Regions from separate parts of the Homo sapiens genome. Here region 2 is linked to region 1. The links are contacts of gene promoters, found by promoter capture Hi-C in blood cells and fetal thymus (Javierre and others, 2016). All regions are on one chromosome and are shown on one strand. The core of a region is centred on a gene start or on the middle of the fragment in contact, and the rest is flanking DNA. Distances in the headings are between cores, read along the strand shown.

The links. Contacts are between HindIII fragments. The CHiCAGO score rates a contact against its expected background, and 5 or more counts as called.
Region 2: a contact is called between a fragment that was not itself captured here and the fragment with the promoter of CLDN1 in region 1, in 1 of 17 cell types (fetal thymus). The highest score is 5.0, in fetal thymus.

The regions. Positions count from the first base shown.
Region 1 is chr3:190,320,040-190,324,279 of GRCh38, reverse strand. CLDN1 (claudin 1) reads left to right here and starts at 1,834. Exons shown (of 4, transcript NM_021101.5): 1 at 1,834-2,296. The coding sequence starts at 2,074. It also overlaps a transcript of CLDN16 not described here. RefSeq lists a silencer at 1,684-1,843. The HindIII fragment of the contact is 3,794 bases long and covers 808-4,240 here.
Region 2 is chr3:189,276,503-189,280,742 of GRCh38, reverse strand. All of the region lies in intron 4 of TPRG1 (tumor protein p63 regulated 1), which reads right to left. Among named protein-coding and RNA genes, the nearest start is that of TPRG1-AS2, 38 kb to the right of the region's middle. The HindIII fragment of the contact is 3,131 bases long and covers 124-3,254 here.

The DNA.
Region 1 (4,240 bases), core at 585-3,084:
AACTCCTGATCTCAAGTGATCCGCCTGCCTCAGCCTCCCAAAGTGTTGGGATTACAGGCGTGAGCCACTGCGCCTGGCCTGAGCCACCGTGCCCGGGTGTTTAATAATACTTTTAATTCTTAAATGTTTGGAACAAAAAAAAGAAGAAAATGAGATTATATGATTCACATGGTACTGCTCTAGTCCTGCAGCAAATTCCAGTGCCTTCTCTGATCAGGGAATTTTTACAAAATCAAATGTGATTGATACATCTTCATCCACACTGACAGGCACCCACAGAACATCCACTGAGACCTAGACAGTAGTACTGACTGCAGGCCCTAACCCTGGGATACAACACGAACATGGTCTTGTCCTAAACAGCTGATAGGAGAAAGACAGTATTCACTGTGTTAATCTCAGTCCAAATTAATTGTCTTCATCTAGCTCCTGTCTTACATTCTTCATTGCTTGTCCCTAAATCCTAGCACGGCCAAGTCCTTTAGTTTTAAGCCTACATGAAAGGCATCCAGGGAGAGCCAGGTGGAAATGAAGGTGGTGGGGCTTGGCCTTTCTTCCCATTCCCACCTTGAGAATTTGCACCTTTCCTTCTCTGTCACCAACTAGCAGTTGCCATGGTATATAAGGGTATATCTTATTTTATCCTTAATATGTTTATTTCTGCTTCCAAGATGCTTCTGTTTTTACTAAAACCATAGAAGCTTCCCCTCCCACCACACTCGCACCACACACAAAAAGCAGTTGGAAAAACATTTCAATGATTCCTAACCACAACAGCACTTCTGACTAACTACAAAGAAGGAAGCTTTGGAGAAACATAGAGGGAAACTACAGTCCCAGCGAGACCGAAACCGGAGGGGTGAGATAGCCAGTCACAGTAAAAGCTGGAACCAGAGCCCAGACTTCCTCAACTCCAGCCCAGTCCTTTTGCCACTGGGGAAACGCTGTTTACATGTCCTCACCTGCGACGAACAACATTTGATAACTCACAAAATTAACACCTTTCAGGGAGAGCGGGGCACTGGCCAGGTCCCTCTGATAATGAATTGCTGCTCTAAGACATAACTGCTGTGGGGAGGAGGTTGGTGTTTGGCGGGGAAGGGCTGCTAGCCTGCAGTTTCATAAGGACAATAATACATCAAAAAGGACAATCATAGATCAAAGGGGATATTTTGGGTCAACTTGATATGTAGTGGAAAGCAGATTGGGAGGGGAGCCAAGTACTGGATATGCTCCGTGCGTGAGTGTGTCTGTGTGTGTGTGTGTGTGTGTGTGTAAATCATGTTGCTCTCTGGGTCTGTTTCCCAATCTGTAGAGTGTAAAAGTCTCTGAGGCTCCTTGCAGAGACAAGTGATGGAACGACCTTGACAGAAGAGAGCAGAGAGAGGAAAGAAGGGGGAGGAAGCCAAGCAAAGGAGAGAGAAATGGTGTGATGGGGGAGGAGACGCGGAGTTGGGTAGAAATGCCTTTTAATAAGATATTGGGAAAAAAGTATTAAACCTAAAACTGCAGCTCTTGAAGGATCATTTTTTCATCTTTGTGTTAGGATTTACAAGTACAGTGCATAGTAATTTTTGGATAATTGGAGTGAATGAATGAAAAGCGTGAAACGCCTTACAGGAGCGAGAAGATCCACGAGAGAAAGCGAGCAGGGACGCAGCTCTGGTGCCTGGTCCTGCCGGGTGGTCCCCACGCCGCCAGCCGCGCGTTCCCCAACCGGGCGCTCCCGGCGCCCTCTCGGTGAGCCGCCCTGAAACCGCCAGGGGGCGCTCCCCGGCTGCCGGGGCTGAGGCGGGCGGAGCTGCTTTAAATCGCGGCGCCCAGCGGTTCTGCGTCTCAGTTCCCGAGCCTGGGAGCAACCGCAGCTTCTAGTATCCAGACTCCAGCGCCGCCCCGGGCGCGGACCCCAACCCCGACCCAGAGCTTCTCCAGCGGCGGCGCAGCGAGCAGGGCTCCCCGCCTTAACTTCCTCCGCGGGGCCCAGCCACCTTCGGGAGTCCGGGTTGCCCACCTGCAAACTCTCCGCCTTCTGCACCTGCCACCCCTGAGCCAGCGCGGGCGCCCGAGCGAGTCATGGCCAACGCGGGGCTGCAGCTGTTGGGCTTCATTCTCGCCTTCCTGGGATGGATCGGCGCCATCGTCAGCACTGCCCTGCCCCAGTGGAGGATTTACTCCTATGCCGGCGACAACATCGTGACCGCCCAGGCCATGTACGAGGGGCTGTGGATGTCCTGCGTGTCGCAGAGCACCGGGCAGATCCAGTGCAAAGTCTTTGACTCCTTGCTGAATCTGAGCAGTGAGTGCACCCCCACCTCACAGCGGCCGTCCAGAGGCCCCAGTCCCCCTGCAGCTCCCTTATGGGCTCATTCTGTTGTGTGATTCCATGGTTATCAGTCTTCAGTTGATCAAGTCTTCTGATCATGTGCTCTGTCATAAGGAAATGAAGAGAATCCTGGTTTGAGGAAAGCGACGCCCAGGCATAAGCTCTAGTTTTGCCTCTAACTCCCTGGGTGACACTTCTGCCACTCTAGGTGTGGCTTCATCCTAAATTCCTATGCTGGTGGTTCGAGTTGAGGGAGTGAAGGCCAAACTTGAACTTGAGCTCTTAGACCTCTCCTAGGCATTCCGAGATTTGGGGTAAATTGAGGATTGGTAGAGTTCAGACAAGAAAATGGGATGACTGAAAAAGTTTGAAGCCTGGTAACTTCTCAAGTGTGCACGCTTAAATAAATAATCCTCAAGTATTAGATATAACTTTTTAACCTTTAATATGATTTTTTCATAGTAAAAGTTACATTCCTACTGGAAATGTCCTATCTAAGTGTCTTCTGCTTATGCTTGAGGTTGATTCTTTTAATTTATAAGATCCAGTTAGTGCAGGGAGGCCCCTTGCAAGACTCTTTGGAGAAGCTGCTTGAGATTCCCCCGAAGTTTTAATTTTCAGACCCAAGGTCTTCTGTAGAGGCTGACGGTGTAGTGCTATCTTGGAAAGAGAAGGTTGGTGGCAGGTGGGGAAAGGCTGACAAGAAAGGTTCTAAATAACCTGCGCAACATAATACAAAGAAAAAAGTAAAGGCACTGAAGGGAAATGCAGCAAAATAGTCATAGCTGATGAAATCAGAGGTCAGCTGGGAGTGGAAGGCAGTGAGAGAGAAAGAAGAGGTGGGTCTTCCTTAGGTTTCCATCTTCCACAAAGAAATTTCTGTGTAATGGATGTTCAGTGACCCCCTGTAAAACTGGAAAGGATTGTATAGAGAGACATATTTCTAAGGATGGTGGGAAGAAGGATAATAGGATAATTGTTTTACTTTGTTTTTTAAATTAAAGGTTTCGAGTTCCTTGTCCGAAAAGTCATTAAATTCCCATTTACTTAGATAATAATGATTCACGGCTGGAGTATCTTCCTTGAGAAATCACATTAATTGTCTTATATCATGTGTCTGTTATGCCCTTTAACTCACTTGAAGAAAAGATCCCTTAGTCTTTGCCTAGATGAACGTGACTGCCCACTGGCCCCCATTGCATGCTAAGGGTGAAAAGTGTTGGCATTGTTCAAGTTTACTTAACTTGTTTTGTCTACCTCCTATCAAGGGACAACTTTTAATAGTGTATATCAAAAGCCATATAGTTTAGAGTTATTAAACCTGTTCCAAATCTGTTTGAACACCTTGAATACCTGTGGCATTTGCTCAGTCAATGTGCATGGTTGTTTTGAGTGTTATTATTTCAGCTTTTGAAGGTTCTCATATCAGGACTTCTTTACACCAAAACCAATCCATAAGTTTAGTAATTATGTGTTGCTCATTGCCCTCAGGGGTTATATTTGTACTTATAAAATGAAAAATTTGGTAATAATTATTGAATTTCTCCATGGAAAGATAAATATATTTAAGGAAACGGTGTCAGGCATTTTAGGTACCACGTTAAGGAATTGGCAGGTGGAGGTTTCTAAGGACAATTCCAGAGAGGTCTCACTGTCAGTTTTATTCCTCTGATCAAAATAGTTCCTTTTCAACATCTTTAAATAGGTTTTCTTTTAACTTCCTGAAATGACCAAATGAAATCAGATTGATCTATGTTGTAAATACTCAAATGGATCATCCTTACACATGATAATGTGTTAAAATGTTTTACTTTCATTTTTTGGTTAATGTAGTTATTACAGTTTTTAAAACTAGGGTGAAAGGACTAAATACCTACCCCCCCACACACACTTTAGAGATGTCTTCCTATTTTTTTA
Region 2 (4,240 bases), core at 440-2,939, 1.0 Mb after region 1:
TTAATTTGCCTCAGGTAAGAGAAATAGCCATGGTAGGGTTACAGCTTTAACCCAGGCTATCTGTCTTCGAGTCCTGTGTTCTTTCTGTTATGGCAATCACCTTCCCTTTACCTTCCCCAAGCTTCTTGTTGGCCTCCATGTGCATAGGTTTCCATTGGTCCTGTTTAGGTGCATGTAGAGAAGTTTTAGATATGGGTCTCAATGCTGCAGCTTAGAGGAGTGGAAAGATACAAGATAAAGTAGGAAAGAGGGGCATAAAAAAGCTCTAAGTTTTTCAATTCCTATTATTAATACACATGTTATATGAACTGAGTCTCCTCTCATTCATGACACTCATACTTACAAAAAACATTTTATCCTATACGGAAAGAAGTCAATGTTCAGTAAGTCCTAGTTCGTCATCTAAAATGTCTTCCATTCATTTATATATATTATTCCATTCATTTATATATATCCATTCATTTATATATATTATTCCATTCATTTATGTATATCCACAGGTGCATTCATTCACTTCTATATTGCCCGTGGCTGCTTTCACTCTACACTCTTCACTAACCACTATGGTGCTAGTCCTGTTGTTTACAACAGGGCTAAACAACAGGTGCTGATATGAGATATATGTTAACAGATAAGTCCCTGAGCTACAAAAGAGATAGTCTAATATCACTAATCCCTCTTATTTTCCACAGCAGGAATTCTATCCAACCATACCATAATGGGAAGTGGCTACCAATCCCGCTCAGAGGTTTTCCAGATAAAGACCCGTGATCTACCAAATATTCTAACTTTTCCTCTAACTCTTCTGCCTATCTGAAGGACTACATTCAGTTTTCCCGTTCATTCATACACCCCTATAACTTTTCATAAACATCTTATTAGAGAAGGAATTACCTCCCTGTACTGTTTCATCCAAAGTCACAATCTATACGTTGATAGTGAGTGTCTAGAAACAACCTGAATTAGTAGTCAGGGTATTCTGCCTCTTCCTGATAAATTAGTTTATGCCATTTCTCCTCCAAACTGGGTGTTTTCCTTTGTTTCTGTTCTTAATTCAGTGAGGTTTTTCATACTACCTTTCATTGAGGGCTCACTATGTTCAGCATTGTTCTAAATACTTTATATACATCATCTAATTTAATCCTCACAACAACCCTTGAGAAAGGTAAAATTATGTCCATTTACAGATGAGAAAAAATAAGGTTTAGAGAGATTGAATAATTTACACAAATTAGTTTCTCCAAATAGATAATTATAGAGCTACAATCTGAATGAAGGTCCACCTGACTCCAAAGACAATAATCCTAAGCACTAGGGCATACTTGCCTCTTTCTGCACCCCAATTATGTCATAACGTATATTAGAGAACATTCCTGATGTCCTGGAATTTGCAGATTTCCCAGTTGTGATCTCTACCTTCAACTGAATCATGCATAGAAAGTTGAACAGGATAGAATAGGGCCCACCAAGAGTTGTTCTCCACTATTCTGACTCTCCACTCTCTTCAGGAAAAGGTTGGCAAACTAGGATCTGCTGGCCAAATCAAGCCCATTGCCTGTTATTGTAAATAAAGATTTATTGGAACACAGGTGTATTCACTCATTTATATATTGCCTGTGGTTGCTTTCACTCTACAACATCAGAGTTAGCAGTTGAAGCAGATACTGTATAGTTCATAAAATCTACGATATTTACTATCTAGTCCTTTAGAGAAAAAGTTTGCCTACCTCCACCACTAGAACAACTCTGATGTCAAATACATTTTAACAGGTTTCATTTATGGAGTTTTGCTCTTGTATGCAATATATACACTTCTTAGGAATATGAGCATAAGTACTTGGGACTGGAAATGGCATATTATACATGGGTATATACGAGTTCTAGTCCCTCTGCCTCATTTTAGCAAGGGGGTGATGGAAGAGAAAAGAAGATCACAGGCAGACCTGGTTTCAAATTCCAGGACATGGCTGTCAAGTGGTGGTGATGACACCTGGATTACAGTGCTTTGAATGTGAGAGACAAAGTTTATAGAGCTCTGGCACAATACTTGACACACAGAAGCATAGGAGATGTTTTCAGATGGAAGAAACTGAGGCTATGTTAGATCTTGACGCTTGCCAGAACAAGAATTTAGGTTTAGGTTTCCTAAGTCCTAAGTACCTTTTTTCCTCCATGATGCCACATTTAACCTTATTTAACAAGCATATGGACTACAGAGATGGATAGAAATTGGCATTGTTCATAGCATCATTTAGCCCATTACTGACAAGGGACATTATGGGTCTGGTTACACAATCTGCTCACAGTACGTAAAGCAATCTGCTTTCCAGCACCGGCTTCCAGCACTTGGAACTGGGTTAGAAGACACAGGCCTGTGAGAATCCAGACTCCTGACCTGTAGACCCCTGCTGCTCTCTCTCCACCCAGGGCACTCGAGCAACCACTGCCCAAATGCTCACCTTGGGAAGATTCACCTGATAACCCAGGCAATAGGTTACCCAGGCCCTTCACTGCTCCTGAGACTTGGGGTCAAAGCATCATTTTAACTCTACAAAGGCAGAATATTGTGGAAAGAAAAGCCACCAAGCCTAATCAAGCAACAAAGGGCATGTGGAAGGAGCATGGTGGCAGAGGCTTTAACATCCTGCATAGGAGTGGAAGTCCTCTGGAAAGAGGGTTGATCAGCCTGCAGACACAAAGCCTGAGAAAGGAAATGATGTAATGCTCACAAATCTGAAAGGTGCTTATGGATACAAAGAAATAGGCTTCGACGTGGCTTCAGAGGCAAAAGAAGCACTGATGAATCAGATTTGTAAAAACAGAAGTTTGTAACAGCTATATCTTATTTAAAAACAGAATATGCTGGCTGAGGAGGTAGTGAGTTCCCCATTTTTGAGTAAGTTGAAGCAGACACCAGTTTCCATCCTGCCAGCTAACATAATAGTGATTCCAACAATGTGGGATTGGACTCGTAAAGCTGTAAAATACATTTGAATTCATGGATTGATGCTTCTCATGCTCCTTAATATATTAATTTTCTTTTTTGGATTTAAGTTGCCTATACATAATTCCAACAATTATCTTTCTAATTAATTAATTGACTTTCAGCACTTCAAGACGTTAAACTTTGATTTAATCTTCTCTATTCTGTATACTGTCCAAACGTGTTCACTGCAAACATCTGATGAGTGACACATTTTGATTTGGTAAGACTTGAATCAAAAATGAAAAAACACATTTTAAAAAATGAAGCTTTTTTCTAATAGCATAGAGCTGTATTTATTCTGATTCTTAATCTTATTGACTGCATTTTTTCCACCAAACTATCAGACCACCCAAATCAATTCCTCTCTTTATTTTGAATTTACTGTTTTTTGAAATATGTATGTGGTTTTGAAATTCCCCTGGGATCTTATGGTATGAGGTGTTGTGTGCGTATGTGTGTGTTTAAGGTGTCTCCTTTATAGCTTGATAATTATGTTTGGAGTAAGTGCAGCATACGGACTTACCCCCATCACACACTCAATGCTTTAAAAGCCCTTGGAGGGCTGGGGATTGTAGGGAAAGCTGCCTTGGTTGGGCAGAAAGCCACATGGCTGCACATTTCTCACAGACCTCCTGTTCCATGTTACTTCCTCTATCTTTCTGTTGCCAAACCACCACAGTTCAGCTAATTCCTCCTCGAGCAGCGTCTCACCCAGTGCTGCAATTATAGTGGAGACAGAAATGGAGTTAGAAATGAAGTAACAAGGAGGCAAAGAGAGGAGGCTACTATGATTCATCCCGAAAGCATCTGGAGTCATTAAAAAATATATACGTTGTCCAGTAATCACTCATTTTATCCACTAACTAAAAAAAAAAGAAAGGAGGAAGAAATGAAAATTAGGTGTTTCGAAAAACCCTGCCTCTCTTGGTCTCTTCCCAAGGAAGCAGCTTGCTTAAGGGGGCATGTATATGTTCCAAGCAGAATGCCAAACCTGTCATCATAAATAATCCCAAGGTATTATTTAGAACAGCCATGAGCCAAGCCAAGGAAGAGACTAGGGATTGTTAACAATGTCTTGTTTTTACACTTTATGATTAATACACATGATCTATTAAGCTTTTCCTAAAATGAAATCCCTTAGACATCAGTACTTTAAAGCATGCTTGAGGCAATATTTGGGCACTTGTCTTATGACTTGGAATTTTCCAGGAGAAAAAAAGGAGGAAAACCATGACATCAGAGCCCAAGAATTTT